Regions from separate parts of the Homo sapiens genome. Here all the other regions are linked to region 6. The links are contacts of gene promoters, found by promoter capture Hi-C in blood cells and fetal thymus (Javierre and others, 2016). All regions are on one chromosome and are shown on one strand. The core of a region is centred on a gene start or on the middle of the fragment in contact, and the rest is flanking DNA. Distances in the headings are between cores, read along the strand shown.

What was found. Contacts are between HindIII fragments. The CHiCAGO score rates a contact against its expected background, and 5 or more counts as called.
Region 1: a contact is called between a fragment that was not itself captured here and the fragment with the promoter of EPRS1 in region 6, in 1 of 17 cell types (M2 macrophages). The highest score is 6.6, in M2 macrophages.
Region 2: a contact is called between a fragment that was not itself captured here and the fragment with the promoter of EPRS1 in region 6, in 1 of 17 cell types (monocytes). The highest score is 5.9, in monocytes.
Region 3: a contact is called between a fragment that was not itself captured here and the fragment with the promoter of EPRS1 in region 6, in 1 of 17 cell types (M2 macrophages). The highest score is 10.3, in M2 macrophages.
Region 4: the fragment with the promoter of GPATCH2 here is called in contact with the fragment with the promoter of EPRS1 in region 6 in 1 of 17 cell types (naive CD8 T cells); the score reaches 6.3 in naive CD8 T cells.
Region 5: a fragment that was not itself captured here is called in contact with the fragment with the promoter of EPRS1 in region 6 in 1 of 17 cell types (neutrophils); the score reaches 5.4 in neutrophils.

The regions. Positions count from the first base shown.
Region 1 is chr1:222,726,259-222,729,018 of GRCh38, reverse strand. It overlaps BROX (BRO1 domain and CAAX motif containing), which reads right to left. Exons shown (of 13, transcript NM_144695.4): 8 at 1,762-1,851; 9 at 191-276. Among named protein-coding and RNA genes, the nearest start is that of FAM177B, 9.6 kb to the left of the region's middle. The HindIII fragment of the contact is 641 bases long and covers 1,118-1,758 here.
Region 2 is chr1:222,655,138-222,657,837 of GRCh38, reverse strand. All of the region lies in intron 18 of MIA3 (MIA SH3 domain ER export factor 3), which reads right to left. Among named protein-coding and RNA genes, the nearest start is that of MIA3, 38 kb to the right of the region's middle. RefSeq lists an enhancer at 2,627-2,700. The HindIII fragment of the contact is 3,961 bases long and covers 1-2,700 here.
Region 3 is chr1:222,692,031-222,694,730 of GRCh38, reverse strand. It overlaps AIDA (axin interactor, dorsalization associated), which reads left to right. Exons shown (of 10, transcript NM_022831.4): 3 at 468-521; 4 at 888-942. Among named protein-coding and RNA genes, the nearest start is that of AIDA, 19 kb to the left of the region's middle. RefSeq lists an enhancer at 70-239. The HindIII fragment of the contact is 174 bases long and covers 1,257-1,430 here.
Region 4 is chr1:217,629,742-217,632,550 of GRCh38, reverse strand. GPATCH2 (G-patch domain containing 2) reads left to right here and starts at 1,461. Exons shown (of 10, transcript NM_018040.5): 1 at 1,461-1,635. The coding sequence starts at 1,580. SPATA17 (spermatogenesis associated 17) reads right to left here and starts at 1,207. Exons shown (of 11, transcript NM_138796.4): 1 at 1,105-1,207. The coding sequence starts at 1,172. RefSeq lists enhancers at 1,183-1,422, 1,453-1,522. The HindIII fragment of the contact is 9,292 bases long and covers 1-1,884 here.
Region 5 is chr1:222,596,088-222,598,824 of GRCh38, reverse strand. No RefSeq gene overlaps it. Among named protein-coding and RNA genes, the nearest start is that of TAF1A, 7.5 kb to the right of the region's middle. The HindIII fragment of the contact is 3,112 bases long and covers 1-2,737 here.
Region 6 is chr1:220,045,132-220,047,901 of GRCh38, reverse strand. EPRS1 (glutamyl-prolyl-tRNA synthetase 1) reads left to right here and starts at 1,397. Exons shown (of 32, transcript NM_004446.3): 1 at 1,397-1,559. The coding sequence starts at 1,514. RefSeq lists enhancers at 1,186-1,255, 1,316-1,645, 1,687-2,244. The HindIII fragment of the contact is 10,455 bases long and covers 1-2,770 here.

The DNA of each region.
Region 1 (2,760 bases), core at 189-2,688, 2.7 Mb before region 6:
TCCTACATCATCTCTTTCCACCCACTTTAGTTCACAATGGTTGCACTGACTCTCAGTGAACATTTACTGAGAGTTAGCTGTCCATTATTTGTAAAATGCTAATGAAAGACTCTGGTGAGATGAGAGACCTGGCACTCCAAGGGCTGGAGAAACAATAATTTACATTGTTTTTAGCGTTGTGAATACTTACATAAGCTGTGTAGAAACACATCTTCAAGTGAAGATATTTTCTCCATTTGGCAGAATATGCAGGCTCCAAACTGGATAAAGTATGATCTAAAGTTACATTTTAAAAAGCAAAATATAATTTCGCCCTGATTCACTAGAAGACTTTTAGTTCATGTGTTCTGATGATAAAAGCAGAAAGAATGCCATTCAAGTCTAAAACTCAAGAATTTAATTTTTTTTTAAAAACACCTTTACTTGATTTTACCAAATCTATACTTTAAGTTACATAAGATTGGTTAAATACTATGGCAGCTCTTTGATTTGATGGTTAATACAACTTTAAGTTAAAGATAATGATAAAAACAGATTGTGACCAAGAACTTCAAGGTGAATACTGTTTATACCGTTATATTAGCTAATTTAAAAAACTTATATAATATAGCAAAACAAATAGTAGTCTAGTCACTCAAATCAGAAATAGGATACTCTCCTCTCTACCCCCATCACTGAATTTTATGTGAAACACACACACATTCACTCACATATCCTTCTACCAAACATCTCTCAAATCTATTTTTTCCTATTTGCTACGTTGCTGTATTTGCCAAAGCTTTCATCATTTCCTTCATAAACTTTAAGAATTTCTTAAGTGCTAAGTTAAGTTAGCCTATTACTCCTTCATGTAGCAAGCCTATCTCTAATACTGCAACTATAGGGACCTTTCTTAAATTCAAATCCAATCAAGTCAGGCTTTTAATGTAGATACATTCCCAAGTATCTACAGAATGGCTTACAAACCAGTGTTTGATTCCAAGCATGCATACTTTTTCAAACTCTTCTCCTACCACTCATCCTGTGTTTCAGGTCACTGTCTGAAGTTTCCAGAATGTGCTAAGTTCTTTCTTATGTCTGTACTTACTATAGAATTCTACACCCAAACTCTAAAGCTTCCTAGGGAACATAAGACTTTTATTTACACTTCACAATAAGGCTAAAGCATCTTCTTCTAGAGTCCTTCTTTAGCATGCCCAGCTTGTTAAGGTTCCTAATTCGCCGCTGTGATGTCTTACTTCAGGATATAATAACGGGGTTACATGTTTGTCTTCTTCCCTAAACTGCAGATCTTTTCTATTTACCTCTCCTTAGCAACAAAAACAGTAACTATCCCATAAATAAAAACACATGCATGTTTCCTAAATAAGTAAATGAAGAGTAATAGGCTTATCACAGGAGCTGTGTTCTACGCCCAATCTCCCACTTTCTAGCAGTTGAATTATGGGTCATGTTAACTCTCTGGATTTTGGATTCTTGTCTAAAGCATAGTAACTATAAGGTTGTTATAAACACTAAAAAAAAATTTTAAGCAAAAAAGCTGTATAATTTTATGAGACATCACTGGTTTTCCCCTCCATTAGAAGTTATGCAGCATACTAAACATGAACAGCTCTATTTTAAATGCAATAAATAAAATATTACTCCAGTTTTGCAAATAATGACAGAATCTGAGAACCCTTTTGTTTTGTTCCCTATTCAAGATCAAATAAATCTGAAAATCTAAAGACTAAAAATGTAACGACAGAATTAGAAGCTTACCAGCTTTTTGATAGAAATTGGCTGTTTCATACGCCAGTGCAGCAATTAGTCCAGGAGCATGTTTTAGTTCAATTGCTCGAGCAATTGTTACTGTAACCAAACACAATAAAGTGAATCTATAATTAAGCTCACTTTATTCATCCTAAATTCAATTATAATAGCAAAAGACAGTCTGATAATCTCTCTGGGATTTTAATACAGTTTGTTAAACGTTTTAACGTGCAAACTTATAGAAAATGCAAACATTAACAAAAAAACACTGAGTTTGTTGGTTCCAATGCCATTTCTTTAAATAAATCATCAGCAAATTACCAGCTAATCATAGAGAATCACTATTACAAAACAGCATGACCTAACAGCAAATTCTTTTTTTCTGAGACAGGGTCTTGCTGTCACCCAGGATGGAGTGCAGTGGCTTGATCATGGCTTACTGCAGCCTCAAACTCTCAGGCTCAAGTGATCCTGCTGCCTCAGTCTCCTGAGTGGCTGAGACTACACATGCATGCCATGGCACCTGGCTAATTTCTTTTTTTTTTTTTTGAGATGGAGTTTTACTCTTGTTGACCACGCTAGAGTGCAATGGCACGATCTCGGCTCACCACAACCTCCGCCTCCCAGGTTCAAGCGATTCTCCTGCCTCAGCCTCCTGAGTAGCTGGGATTGCAGGCATACGCCACCATGCCCAGCTAATTTTGTATGTTTTAGTGGAGATGGGGTTTCTCCATGTTGGTCAGGCTGGTCTCGAACTCCCAACCTCAGGTGATCTGCCTGCCTCGGCCACCCAAAGTGCTGAGATTACAGGCGTGAGCCACCACCACACCCAGCCAACTGGCTAATTTTTTAAATAACTTTTTGTAGAGATGGAGGTCTTGCCATACTGCCCAGGCTGGTCTCAAACTCCTGGGCTCAAGCAATTCTCCTGCCTCGGCCTCCCAAATTGCTGGGATTACAGGCATAAGCCACCAGCCCAGCCATTTTCAGAGGAAGACTAGAGTTTGA
Region 2 (2,700 bases), core at 183-2,682, 2.6 Mb before region 6:
AACTGCTCATTCAATAAATACTTCAGCAAATATTTTATGAGTGGTTATACTAATTACCTTGTAAGAGACTAAGATAAAGGTATGGCTATGGTAAGTACCACCTCTGCACTAATGGAGCTCACAGCTGAATGTGTAAAAGGTGCATATAAGAACAGAACAATCCCTCTCTGACTCTGGCTTAGGAAGGGATGTGGAAAAAACAAGTCTTGAAGAAGGATTCAAGAGAATTTTGTTTCCAATAATGGATGAGTTAGTCTGCAAACACTGAAAATAAGAACATATGGACAAAAATAGAAAGAATGTGCTCGAAGGCATCAGAAAGCTAATAAGGCAGTGAAGAAAATCCAGTAGGAAAAAACACAGAATTATAAGTAAGCCCGGCATTTTAAGCCATTTCCCCCCAGGTTCATCCATGCATTGAAGACAATGCAGATATGTAAGAAGGTTGAAAAGAACTTTCAACAGATCCCTGGGTTGAGAGAAACAAGAAGCGGAGGGAGTTCAGGGCTGCCAATGAGAAGGACCCCTAGTAAAAGCCCTAGGCTTTGGGTTGAGACCAGAAAAGAGCTGCACACTTGGAGTATTGAACAGGCAATAAATACAATGTCCTTTAAAGGAACTAAGCCATTTTTGAATGATTTTAATTGCTAACTGGAATAAAGTAATGACCACCTGCTAGAGGTAATCTCATATCTTTTATGTAGGATGATAACATCATCTTAGACCTCAAATTTCCCCTACAATTTTCAAAAACAATGTTCACCACTCCATCAAAACCAACCAGACATTCCACAAGACAAGACAATGTAATCACAATCTAGAAGACCAGAGAAACACACTCATAAGGGATCCACATAATAGGATTACCACATAGATTTTAAAGCAATTGTGCCTTACAAATTGAAGGAAGTACAAGTCAAGATTACACATTTCAGCAGAGGATTAGAAACTATAAAAGTGAAAAATAGTGAAACCAAAAAGAACTCAATGATTTTAGCAGATTAGACAACTGAGGTGAGATTTTTAGCACATTGGAAGATAGGTCAGAAGAAAACATCCAGAATGAAGCATATTCAGAATGTAGGAGGCATTGGGCGAGGGGTAGGGGTGGGAGATCCTAGTATGTTGAATTGGATTCTCAGGACAAGTGAGAATAAGATAGAATTAATATGTGAAAAAAGAGGCTCCAAACTCAAGAGATGTTTATAACCTCAAGCAGTATAAATGCAAAAGAAAAAGCAGGAGGGTAGGGTGGAAGGGTGATGACAAAACCCTACATGTAGGCACCTCCCAAGAAAACTGCTGAAAAACCAAAAAGAAAATGACGAAAGGCAGCTAGGGCAGGCATAAAACATTTGAAAAAAGAGAAAAGAGAAAATAAGAATGATAATAGATTCCTCAAAGAAACTTTAAAACTAGAGGATAACTGGTTATCTTTAAAGTGCTGATACTAAACAACTATCGAAATTCCAGAACCAGCAGAAAGATCCTTTTAAAATGGAGTCAAACTAAAGACATTTTCATACAAAAGTAAACTCACTGAACCTGCATTAAAGTATATTCTTTGGCCGGGCGCGGTGGCTCACACCTGTAATCCCAGCACTTTGGGAGGCCGAGGCGGGTGGATCACGAGGTCAGGAGATTGAGACCATCCTGGCTAACACAGGTGAAACCCCATCTCTACTAAAAATACAAAAAAAATTAGCCGGGCATGGTGGCGGGCGCCTGTAGTCCCAGCTACTCGGGAGACTGAGGCAGGAGAATGGCATGAACCTGGGAGGCGGAGCTTGCAGTAAGCTGAGACCACGCCACTGCACTCCAGCCTGGGCGGCAGAGTGAGACTCTGTCTCAAAAAAAAAAAAAAAAAAAAAAAAGGGAAAGAAAGTCTGGAGATACGTGATTAGCTAGGGGACTGGCATAAAAGATGACAAGGGCCTGAATTAACACAGTGACTTTAGGGGTGGACAGTAGAGTACAAACCACACATGGAGACTGAATGAATTTTGGGGAAGTTGAATAAAACACTGCCACATCAATGGGTTAACTGTATCACGAAGAAAAACAGTTGCCATTTACGTAATTCACATTACTATTGGAGGCAGAGAAGTGCTCTTTTTTAAAAAGTAATGAAATGAGGAATGTCTCTCTGAAGCAGGACAGGCATTTATTTAGAGCTGGCCTGAACAAAACCTGGAAAATCTAAACTGGCTGCCTGGTGAGCAAAGAATTAGAGAAAAAGTTAATGGTATGGTTTCAATATTTAATGGCATACAGCAGTAGCAGTCTAAGCATTTAAAAAAGTTAAATTTGCTTAGCAAGAGAGGCCTCCTCACACACTGCCATATACACCAAAGAGTAAAACATAAGAGCAAACACAAATAGCAACTGCCACAGATAACCTATTTTTAGAGAATTCAGATGTTTTTGTGGACAAAAAACTTGAACTATAAAAATATACCTCTCAAAAGGTACCTCGCTCGAAATTTGAGATATGTATTTCAGAGGATTATTATCTAAATATACACACCAAATAGTTCTACATTCAAAACTCCTAATATCTTTGCCACAATTATGTTTAGTTTGAATATTTTACTCTGTGAAGTCCAAAACTAAATGTACCTTCAATAAGTAAATTTTCCTTTTTTGAAGTTTTTATTCTACTAAAACACGTCATACAAATCCCTCAGACTGTTTAAAGGA
Region 3 (2,700 bases), core at 94-2,593, 2.6 Mb before region 6:
CGTTTATCACAAATACCAGTTTTGCTTAGTGTTGCCTATATATTAAACAAGTTGGTGTTGGACTTAAGTCAGAATTAAATTAATTATACCATTGTGCTAACTTTCAGATATTTTTAAGCCTTTTAAAAGGTGAATTTTAGGCTTTATGGAGAAGAAAAGGTGAAGCTTGGAACAGAAGATACCAGGCAGCCCTTTAAATCATATCTACAGCTGTCATCAAAGCAAACTTGATTTAGAATTAGTTGTGGCACATTAGGTCAGGGGAGAATATATACTCACCTTCTCTCCCTCATCCCAACCCTTTGCCTCTTATTTCTTTTCTCTAGAGTCTGAAAGATGCTAGAAAGAAATAAAATTTAACTTACTTAAGAGAATTATGGATCTTTTATTAATAAAAATTAACTTGATGATTTGAACTAACAGTTATGATAATTCTGGTATTTATAGCTTTTTTTATTCCCCTGCAGAAAACCATAGGCAAAATTGCAACATGCTTGGAATTGCGAAGTGCAGCTTTACAGGTAAGGAGTTTTTCTCTTCTGTAATACAAGGAAAATAAATTATTCTGCATTATTGTGATAAAACATTAGACATTTATGTCAAAAGCAGTATTGTCTCAGAAGTGTTTTATAACAACATCTATTAAATTCATACTTTTTTAGTTCATATTTCGTAAATTGTAAAATAAAAGATATGACTTCAATTTTTTCTGTTATTTTTGGCCTGAGTGTTCCAAAAATAAACAAAAACCAGTTTGGGACTTTTCATTTTCTACCTTGAAAGCAAGAAATAGAATCCTTTTGAATATTTGGTTCTTGCCACTTAAAAGACAGGGTGCAGTGAAATCCTTGTAGTGAAAAGATGTAATATGCTTATTTTAAATTTAGTCCACACAGTCTCAAGAAGAATTTAAACTGGAGGACCTGAAGAAGCTAGAACCAAGTAAGTTTAAGTTTATATTTTTTTGTGATACTCCTTTGGAAAAATAATCTATTGTAGATGTTAAGGCTATTTAACAAAGATTATGATTTGATTTATTTCTGTTAATATCTAGTCCTATGTGATTTTTTGGGTGCTTTTGTTACTTCTGTAACATTTGTAGTAATTATTTTTTGGATTTTACCTTCGTTGTAGAATATATGAGGTTGTACCTCATCTAAATATGTATTAGCCTTTATTTTGTCTTACTCACTTTAATAAAACCACAATTACTTTGGTAAACATTTGCAGCAGCATCTATTGGAGAATATAAAGCTTTAGTCATTGATTCCCATTTACACTACATGTCATTGAAAACTACAGTCCAGCTGTTGGAGCTGCTCTGCAAAATATTTTTTTTGTTGTCTTCATTTTCCTTTCTCCTTAAAACTCTTTTGAAGTAAATAATTTCTTCAAATGTTTTGATGGTTAGTATGCTGCCAAATAAAGCTTTTTTGCTGGTTTAGATGAATGTTCTTTGCAATATGGGCAAATGCACAAGAGTTGAATATAAAACTAAATGAATATAAATCAATATTCTCATTTTTCATTGAGACAAGACTGCACATCTTAACATTATTATGTATATAGAGTCTATTTATCCATCTAAGTCAAATATCTAAGTAGGGAATCATAAAATCATAGCATTTTAGAACAGAAAGGAGTTTTAAGAGTCATATAGTTGAGTTCTCTCACTTTATAGTTGAACAAAGCTGAAATGATTTGCTCTGTTTCACTTCAGCCCTTAGTAGCCACTTCTAAGGAAAATTAATGACTATAACTTGCAGTATGTTGGACTAGGTTGGTTGTTTTGCTGATGTATTCTTCAGTTTTAAAAAATCTCTTGAAAATCATGTCTGAAATTCATACTGATGGTGAAAATACATTTAATTTGCTTATAATAATCCTCAGTCACATACTACTTCTTACTCAAACATATCTCTTCATGACCCTGTAAAATTCCCTTCCATAAATTCATCCTTCAAAGTCCCTCAGATGTCCCATCTTTCTCTGTTCCCCTAGCCATATTAAACTCGGCTTCCTATCTTTTATAGTAACACTTTTTATATCCATCTTCATTGTTTGCCCTGTATTCATTTCACTCCTCAAAGAGATTGTGAATAACCTTTGTATTTTTCCCACAGAGCCTGATTCAGTGCTTTGTATGTAATATGGGCATGGCAAATTTTGTTACATTGAATAGAATTGAATGTCTTCAGGGAAACTTCTCATAATTAAAAAATAATCTTTCAGATGGGAACAGTTACCCATTTTGCCTACCACAAAAATGAAACAAGTCAGTGGCAAAGAGAACACATGTTGATATTTGTGTGTGTGTCATTTCTAGAGTGTAAGCTTCAGGAGGGTGGCAGGTCTGTGCTCCGTGAGAGCAGGCTAGGAGTGCAGAGTTTTTACTAGTAGGGTACATCCCCACGTCTGCCATTCAGAGGTCCTCAGTGTGTAGAGTCTACTGAATGAGCCAGTGAGTCCCCAACCCATGATGTACTTTGTGTTCATTTAATACCTTCTGTGAAATTATAAACTCACCTCTCCCCTTCTCCGCATCCTCCTAAAGTATAATTAGTAGTACTAGTGGAAGGAAAACCCTATGTAAAGTTTAAGGTAAATCCTGTTTTTAAAGGACATTGGAATCCCTGTTATTCTATAATTGGTGAAAATGGAAACCTATCCTACAGAAAATAAGAAAGGATTGTTTTTCCT
Region 4 (2,809 bases), core at 212-2,711, 2.4 Mb after region 6:
TGCTGTAAGAGAGGTACGTTGTGAAATAATGATGTAGTAGGTGAGATAAACGTTAGAATAAAAGCAGCTCAGCAAGACCCTATCTCATTGACATATTTTCCATTGGTCTGTCATGTCACTGTATTCCATAATAGTCTAATTCACTTTTTTGCAGTTTCTTTTAAGTTACAAAAACTCCTGGGGCAATGCTTCTTTAAAATGAAACTCTTCCTGGGCAAGAAGTTTGGCTGTAGGGAGATGAAGAAGACTGCTAGTGGTTTTCTTACCCGTTATCTATTAATTAATATATTGGTACTAGTTACCGTGTCAGAATGGTTTAGACACTTTCATTTTATTTTATTTTATTTATATTTATTTATTTATTTATTGAGACAGGGTCTTAATTTGTCACCCAGGCTGGAGTGCAGTGGTACAATGTCGGGTCACTGCAACCTCTGCCTCCCAGGTTCAAGCGATTCTCCTGCCTCAGCCTCCGGACTAGCTGGGATGACAGGCATGTGCCACCATGCCCGGCTAGTTTTTGTATTTTTAATAGAGACGGGGTTTCACCATGTTGTCCTGGTTGGTCTAGAACTCCTGGCCTCAGGTGATTCGCCCCCCTCGGCCTCCCAAAGTGCTGGGATTACAGGCGTGAGCCACCACACCCGGCAGATACGTTCATTTTAAAAAGGCGAATGAGTCATAGAACAATTGAGTTTAGTGATGTTTGTAAAATAACGGAGGCTCAAATCCCTAGGTAGATGGGACACAATCTGAGTTCATTGGGCTAGTGAGTCAGGGTGACCCCCAGTCAGGGTATTGAACATAGGTTTCATCAAATTGCAGAGTGGTGATGTCGAAGAAAAAAAGCACTTTACAATTTTATCTATGCTGGGAGTTTCCTTAAATCATCTCACACTGAATATCTACGGCCCCTCTCTATTTAGAATTTCGTTGTATGGTAACAGAAACTCCCAATTATGTTTGCAGCCCATTAAGGGAAGAATTGGGTACTACTTAATGAATTAGGGTAATCGTTAAATCGTTAATTGGAAACTCCCGCTGAGGAACAACTGGTATAAAGTCACGCCCGCCCTTTACGCGATCCTTCTCTTCCTGACTTACCTGTTCCTAAAGTAGTACTGATTTCCTACAGTCGACGACCTAGCTTGCAGCCGGGCTAACGTGGCCATGGTCTCTTGGCCTTGGGTTTACAACTGGTGTTACTACCGGTCTCCATGGTAACTGGGCTAAACCATAGCTCACTCCCGGGGTTCGACTTTTTGTTCACTCCTCTTTTCTCTCATGCTGCTTTGACTTTAAGAGCACTAAAAAGAGAATTAAGAAATTTCTGTGTAGCACAAAAGTTTAATTTATTTGTCTCTGTCTCTACTGCGAGTAGGAAGAGGGGATTATAGGAAGGGGAAAGCAGTAAACGCGGAGAACTAATGGTTGCTCCGGGCATCCGGTTTCCGCCGCCTGTCGGCTTCCGGAAGCTCATCTCAAAATGCTGAACTGCTCTTTGGAAGTCGCCGGTGCTGTTGTAGTTGGAGTCTGTTCACGGGCCTGAGCTTCGAGGCCAGGCTCCCGGGTGTCGTTAATGTTCGGGGCCGCCGGGCGCCAACCGATCGGAGCTCCAGCAGCCGGGAACAGCTGGTGAGGCTGGCGGCCCTGGGGAGGGGGAGGTCAGGGAAGGGTGTGATTGCCCGAGGCCGCTCCGCTGGACCTGGAATGGAGGCGGGAGGGAGCTGTGATGGATGATCTGAAGACATCTAGGCCTTGCTCTCACTCATTCCTGGGATGCACGCAGTTTGAGGGAGCTCTTGGGTGTGTGCCAAAGATTTGTGAAAGAATACAGTAAATGTTTTCTGATTGCTTGTTTAACAATATTTTAGAAGTCAAGCTTCCTGTACTCCAGGAGCAATTCATCTCCTCATTGATTGTTGACAACACTAGGGACAGGAAGAATTTATCTTAATCCGGGCCTTATTCCCCACTCCTCTTTCAATATTTACCAGATTATACCAAGTCTTTTGGAAGATAAATTCCAGAAATCTAGAGTTCTGGAAGTTCAATCGTGGAAAACACATCACCCTCTCACCCCCTTTTTTAAAGAGAGAGGGTAACCTACCTGTTTCCACCCTCTTGAACATTCTATTCAAGTTAAAGTGAGATATGTATGGGGGCTTTCCAAGAACCTATAACTGTCAGGATTAAGTTTGGGGCTTGACTATGTCTATGGTATCATGTTAGAATAATATATTGCTTTGACTTTTCAAAGTATTTCCACAAATTAATACACTTTATCCTATGACAGCCTTGTGATAGCAGAATATCACAAGCACAGAAAATTCAAGTACCGTGTCCAAAGTTGCCCTGTACATTTTAATCCTAGAGCTAGAATCCTGATTTGGGGATTTCTAGTTGAACACTCTGTATTATCTGTCCTGTTTTTCTCCCAAGCCCTTTTCCTCCAAACATAACATAAGACAACCAGTGACACAAACAAGCAATTTCCCATTGAAAATCCTCAAACATAAAGTTCTGACCAACAGGTGAAAGAAATGTGGCTAAATGGTGCGTGTTCATTCCTAGATTCTGCAAAAATTAGAACATGAGGAATTCTAGTAGTCTGTGATCTCAGATAATTGCTTTTCCATCACCTATCACTGAAAAGTTAAAAGAATACCTTATCCAAAATATTTCTAGTTGGACCTGATCATCCTGTAGTTAATTTTATAGTGAATATAGATTTGATTATACTATTTGTAAATTATTACATTTTCCAGTGAGAAAAGTAGGGAGCATTTTTTAAATGAACCAGTTTTTA
Region 5 (2,737 bases), core at 1-2,500, 2.6 Mb before region 6:
AAATGGATAAGAAAATAATGTGACTTCGGGAAAGCCCTTATCCCTTTAGACAGAACTGTAGGAAAACACAGTTACAGTTAGGTAAAGGACCAGAGCATGTTATTTGTGCAAATGTGTAACATCCATGCCCTGGCCATGAACTTTTCGTAGCATCCCTAGTCATGATAGCAAAATAAAAATTGCTCCCATGCATTTCCAAACCCCCCTTGGTGGGAATGATACCACCCTCCCAGTATGAGATGCACTGCTTGAGACTTTTCTTAAAATTTGATCAGTTAACAAAGCACCTGTGGTTGTAAATATTCTGTTTTCTGTAGTTTCTTTTACCAGCAAAAAGGAAAAGATTATAACATCAATGTAAAAACAAAAACAATAAAACCCAAAGAAACTCAAAAGTCTTTCTAGATTCAAGTGACTTTGCTTCACAATTTTTTTTTTCATTTAAAGCTAACATCACCTTAAAGGATGTCTCACACAAAAGTCTTTCTAGATTCAAGTGACTTTGCTTCACAATTTTTTTTTCATTTAAAGCTAACATCACCTTAAAGGATGTCTCACACTTCTGAATTTATATTTCCTGACCTCCAAAAGGGATCCTATCTATTATTAAAAAGTCAAAAAATAAAAGATGCTGGTGAGGTCGCAGAGAAAAGGGAATACTTATACAATGGTAGGGTGGATAAGAAAATGGAATACCATGGAAGACCACGGAATACTATGCAGCCATAAGAAAGAATGAGATCATGTTCTTTGCAGCAACATGGATAGAGCTGGAGGCCATTACCCTAAGCTAACTAATGCAGAAACAGAAAACCAATTACTGTATGTTCTCACTCATAAATGGCAGCTAAACATTGAGTACACATGGGCACAAATTAAGAACACCACGGGCTACTTGAGGGTGGAGGGTGGAAGTAGAATGAGGATTGAAAAATTACCTATCAGGTACTATGCTTATTTATTAGTTGGGTGTTGAAATAATCTGTGCACCAAACCTCTGGGACACACAATTTACCTATATAACAAACCTGCGCATGTACCCACTGAAACGAAAATAAAAGTTAAAAAAAGAACACAAAAGGGGTCTTATATTGTTCTACTTCCATATTCCCACATTTATTCCCTCTTCTGCACTATCTTACCTCGAATTTACATCTTAATGAGTTCTATTGTTAGTGTGTGTGTGTGCATTAATAGTTGAACCATGGATACAATTTGACCTATTTGGAATGGATGTGAAGGACTTTTTCTTTAATTAAAGCACATGTTTCTCAATTAGGACCTAGGGAATATAGGTTGAGACGTAGTACATAGTCATTAGAATGACAATTGAAATTGAAATTAAATAAATATGTATCAATTCATGATGGTTGATCTCATTTACCCCATTATAATCAGTGCCCTTCACTACAGAACAGCAAACTCACTTCTAGCATTGACATCTACTAATTGTATGTTAGAGATTGCAGAAGAAGCAATGTAGAGTTAATGACTGTCATAATGATGGAGATGCATGATGACATCAGTAATTTTTTTAGTGAATCTCTTTTTGGACACAAAAATCACCACCAATATGGCTATGTATCTTTAAAATTATATTTATGTATATATGTATATATATACATATTTAGATATATAGCACAACCAAATGTTTATGCTCTATTGTGAGCATAAACATTTATAGGTACTCCAGAGCAATGGTTAGCAAACTATGGCCCACGAGCTAAATCCAGCCTCACATCTGTTTTTGTAAACAAAGTTTCAATAGAACACAGACATGCTCATTCATTTACATATTGTCTGTGGTTATTTTAATGCTATATAACAGCAGAGTGGTTATGACAAAGACTGTATGACAGGTAAATCTAAAATATTTATTCTCTGTATCTACAGAAAATGTTTGCTGACTCCTGATATAGATTGTAAATGAAATGTCAGCAGAATACATGTGCATTTTTTCTTTTTTTATTGCTAGAATGGGTTGTATGAAATGGGATCAAGGAGCTGCTAATTGTTGGGACCAACGTCTCCTCCATACAGGGCTAGAAATCTTGGCACGGTGTCACGTCAAAGGTGAAAAACAACGAATGAAGTTCATTTTGTTGAGGTTTAAGAAATGTCTTTTCTAGGGCATTTTAAGGTGTATCTAATCTTTGGGTTGTAGAAAATGACAATGGTTTTCAAAATAGTTGGAAAGAATGCTTTAATCTGTTATGTTCACTAGTATTTTATAATAATTTCAGAACTATCATCTAATATATTAAAGTATCATAAAAGACTGTATATTGAATTGCAGTAAAAAGTTTTGAGTCCATCTATTAACGTTTATTTTTCTAGTTATTGTGGATTTCATGCTCATAAAACTATTGGTAAAACATATGATCATTTAAGTCACATTACCTCACAAATTTTGGCCAGCTTATTTTTCATAGACCCATGTTGGTTTACTCCTTCACCTGATTTTGGTTTCCATGGACATTAAAAGAGACACTACAGAGTTTCTCTATAATTTGCCCTGTTTAATGAGTGTCTCCATCACAAATGATGGAAAAGTGTATAAGGAAGTTAGTACGTTCACTTTGAACCATGACTGAGTTACCTGGTACTGGACTTGCCTTCCTGTCACAAAAGAGTAAGAAACTAGAAAAACTACTTAAAGCAACTGTTTTCAGGCATTGATAAACAGGCAGCACATGACTGATCCATGAGAGCAAAACACACAGGTGAACTCCATAAT
Region 6 (2,770 bases), core at 148-2,647:
ATGCATGCACGTCCGTCACAAAGGATTTGAAAGGGAGAATCAGATGAGACGCTGAAAAAAACACCTGTGGACTCCATGATTGGGGGCGGCATCGGAGGGTTTTTTTGTTTTGTTTTTTAGATCAGGTCTCTCCCTGTGTCGGCCAGGCTGGAGGGTAGTGGCTACTCACAGGCAAGTCCACGGCGAGGCCACTACAGCCTCATCTTCCTGGGCTCAGGCGATCCTGCCTCAGCCTTCTTAATAGCTGAGACTACAGGAGCGCGCCACTGCGCCTATCTGCAGTGATTTTTTGTTTGTTTTGAAACGGGGTCTCAGTCTGTCGCCCAGGCTGGAGTGCAGTGCCGCGATCTCGGCTCACCGCAACCTCCTCCTCCCGGGTTCAAGCGATTCTCCTGCCTCAGCTCCCCAAGTAGCTAGGATTAAAGGTGCGCGCTACCATTCCCGGCTAATTTTTGTACTTTTAGTAGAGACCCCCGTCTCTACAGTTTCACCATGTTGGTGAAGCTGGTCTCCAACTCCTGACCTCGAGATCCGCTCGCCTCCGGCCTCCCAAAGTGCTGGGATTACAGGCCTGAGCCACCGCGCCCGGCCTCTGCTGTGATTTTTTTTTTTTTTCTTTTCGAGAAGGAGTCTCACTCTGTCGCCCAGGCTGGATGCAGTAGCACGATCTCGGCTCACTGCAACCTCCACCTCCCAGGTTCAAGCGATTCTCCTGCCTCAGCCTCCCAAGTAGCTGGGATTACAGGGGCCCACCACCATGCCAGGCTAATTTTTGTATTTTTAGTAGAGATGGGGTTTCACCATGCTGGCCAGACTGGTCTCGAACTCCTGACCTCAGGTGATCCGCCCGCCTACACCTTCTAAAGTGCTGAGATTACAGGCGTGAGCCACCACGCCCGGCCTGCAGTGATTTTTAAAGAGTCTTTTATATTTCCTTTAACCATTATTTTCAACACGCAAATAACTCTTGAAAATACGTTCTTGTTTTGGAAAAAAAAAAACGGGGGGGAATGTATAAAATAAACAACGAGAAAAACTTCTCCCATTCCCAACGTAATCATGGCTATCGTGTGTATGCTTCCAGGACTTTTCTTTTTACATAAAGACAGTGCATGCTTTTGTTTCGTGCTTCACATAAACGCCTATCCCATCTTAAAGATGGTTTTACAACCTGCTGTTTTACGACCTGCTGACTTGACGAAGTGTCGTAAAGTCCCGTCCACTTCAGCGTCTTTCCCACCGCAGCACGAAAGGCCACGCAGGCCGTTCTAACCCTGGCGGCCAAGAGGAGGGGTAGCAGGCTCTGGAACCTGCGGGCGGGGACGAAGACGGCGCGCGACGATGTCGCACCGCGGCGTGCGCGGTGTCGGCAGTAGCTGCGGCGCAGGGGCGGAGCGAAGGCTGCGGCGGCGTCGGGTACGCGCACACGTTGCATCTTCTTCCTTTCGCGGGGTCCTCCGTAGTTCTGGCACGAGCCAGGCGTACTGACAGGTGGACCAGCGGACTGGTGGAGATGGCGACGCTCTCTCTGACCGTGAATTCAGGAGACCCTCCGCTAGGTAAGGGGCCGAGACCAATGACCTGTGTGGGTTGCATCAGCCAGGGAGGGTGCAGGGCGTGGAAGGTCGCTGCGCCCCGGCTTTGCGCAGTGGTGGTCACCATCTGGGATGTTGGACCTGCCCCTCGCCCCAGAATTGTACGTGGAGGAGGCTCCGCACCCCTCGCCCCGTGTCCCCGGCAGGTGCATCTGCTCCTGAAGATGGTTTTCCCGGGCATGGAGGGAGGCGCAGTGTGAGCCCGGGCTAGACAACACGAGACTCCGCTTCGGATCTTTTTCTCAGAGGGATGAACTCCCAGTCAACTCACCTCTCCCTTTTTCCCCCGGAGAGCGAGAGTTGCTCGTGGAAATAAGATTTTAAAACTTAAAATCCAATAGTCGTCGCTTCTCTTTTAGCATTTTTCCCCCAACTCCTTTTCTTACCTCCTTTCCTGTCCTGTCCCTCCTCTCAGGAGAAATCCTCAGTTCACTTGAGTCAAATTTTCCTTACGTTTTATCGAGTTCAGAAGAAATAACCCAGACGAGCATATTAGCATTTAGGATTTCAACTGAGGCTGCATTTATTTTTAATTAAATGTGGTAGGGTAATTGGGGAAAACACCCAGGTACACTGTAGACTGATGCGGTTGCTTTTACTGCACCCTGTGGATGTGTAGTAAATTTCAGAGTAAACATTGGATCTGTCACCTTACTGACACATCTTAAGTTCTGTTTGGAATTATTTTTTCGACATGACCAAGATTATTGTTGGTAGATTGCTTAGAATTTCTGCTTTTTCATTACTTTGGGAAATTACACAGAAGAATTTAAGTAGTTTGCCGATTTTTTTTTTTCTTTTGAGAGTCAGGGTCTTGCTCTATCGTCCAGGCTGGAGTGCAGTGGCGCTTTCAAGGCTCACTGCAGCATCGAACTTCCGGGCTCAGATGATCCTCCCACCTCAGCCTCCTTAGTAGCTGGGACTACAGGCGCGTGCCACCATGCCTGGCTAATTTTGTGTTTGTGTCTTTTTTGGAAAGATGGCGTTTCACTGTGTTGCCCAGGCAGGTCTCAAACTCCTGGGCTCAAGCCATCCTGACTTGGCCTCCCAAAGTACTAGGATTACAGGCGTGAGCCACAGTACCCAGCCTGACCTAATATTTGTTAATGCATATGTATGATAATACACACACAGTACTTTCTAATGTTGAAGAAGCCCATACCTTTATATACAGT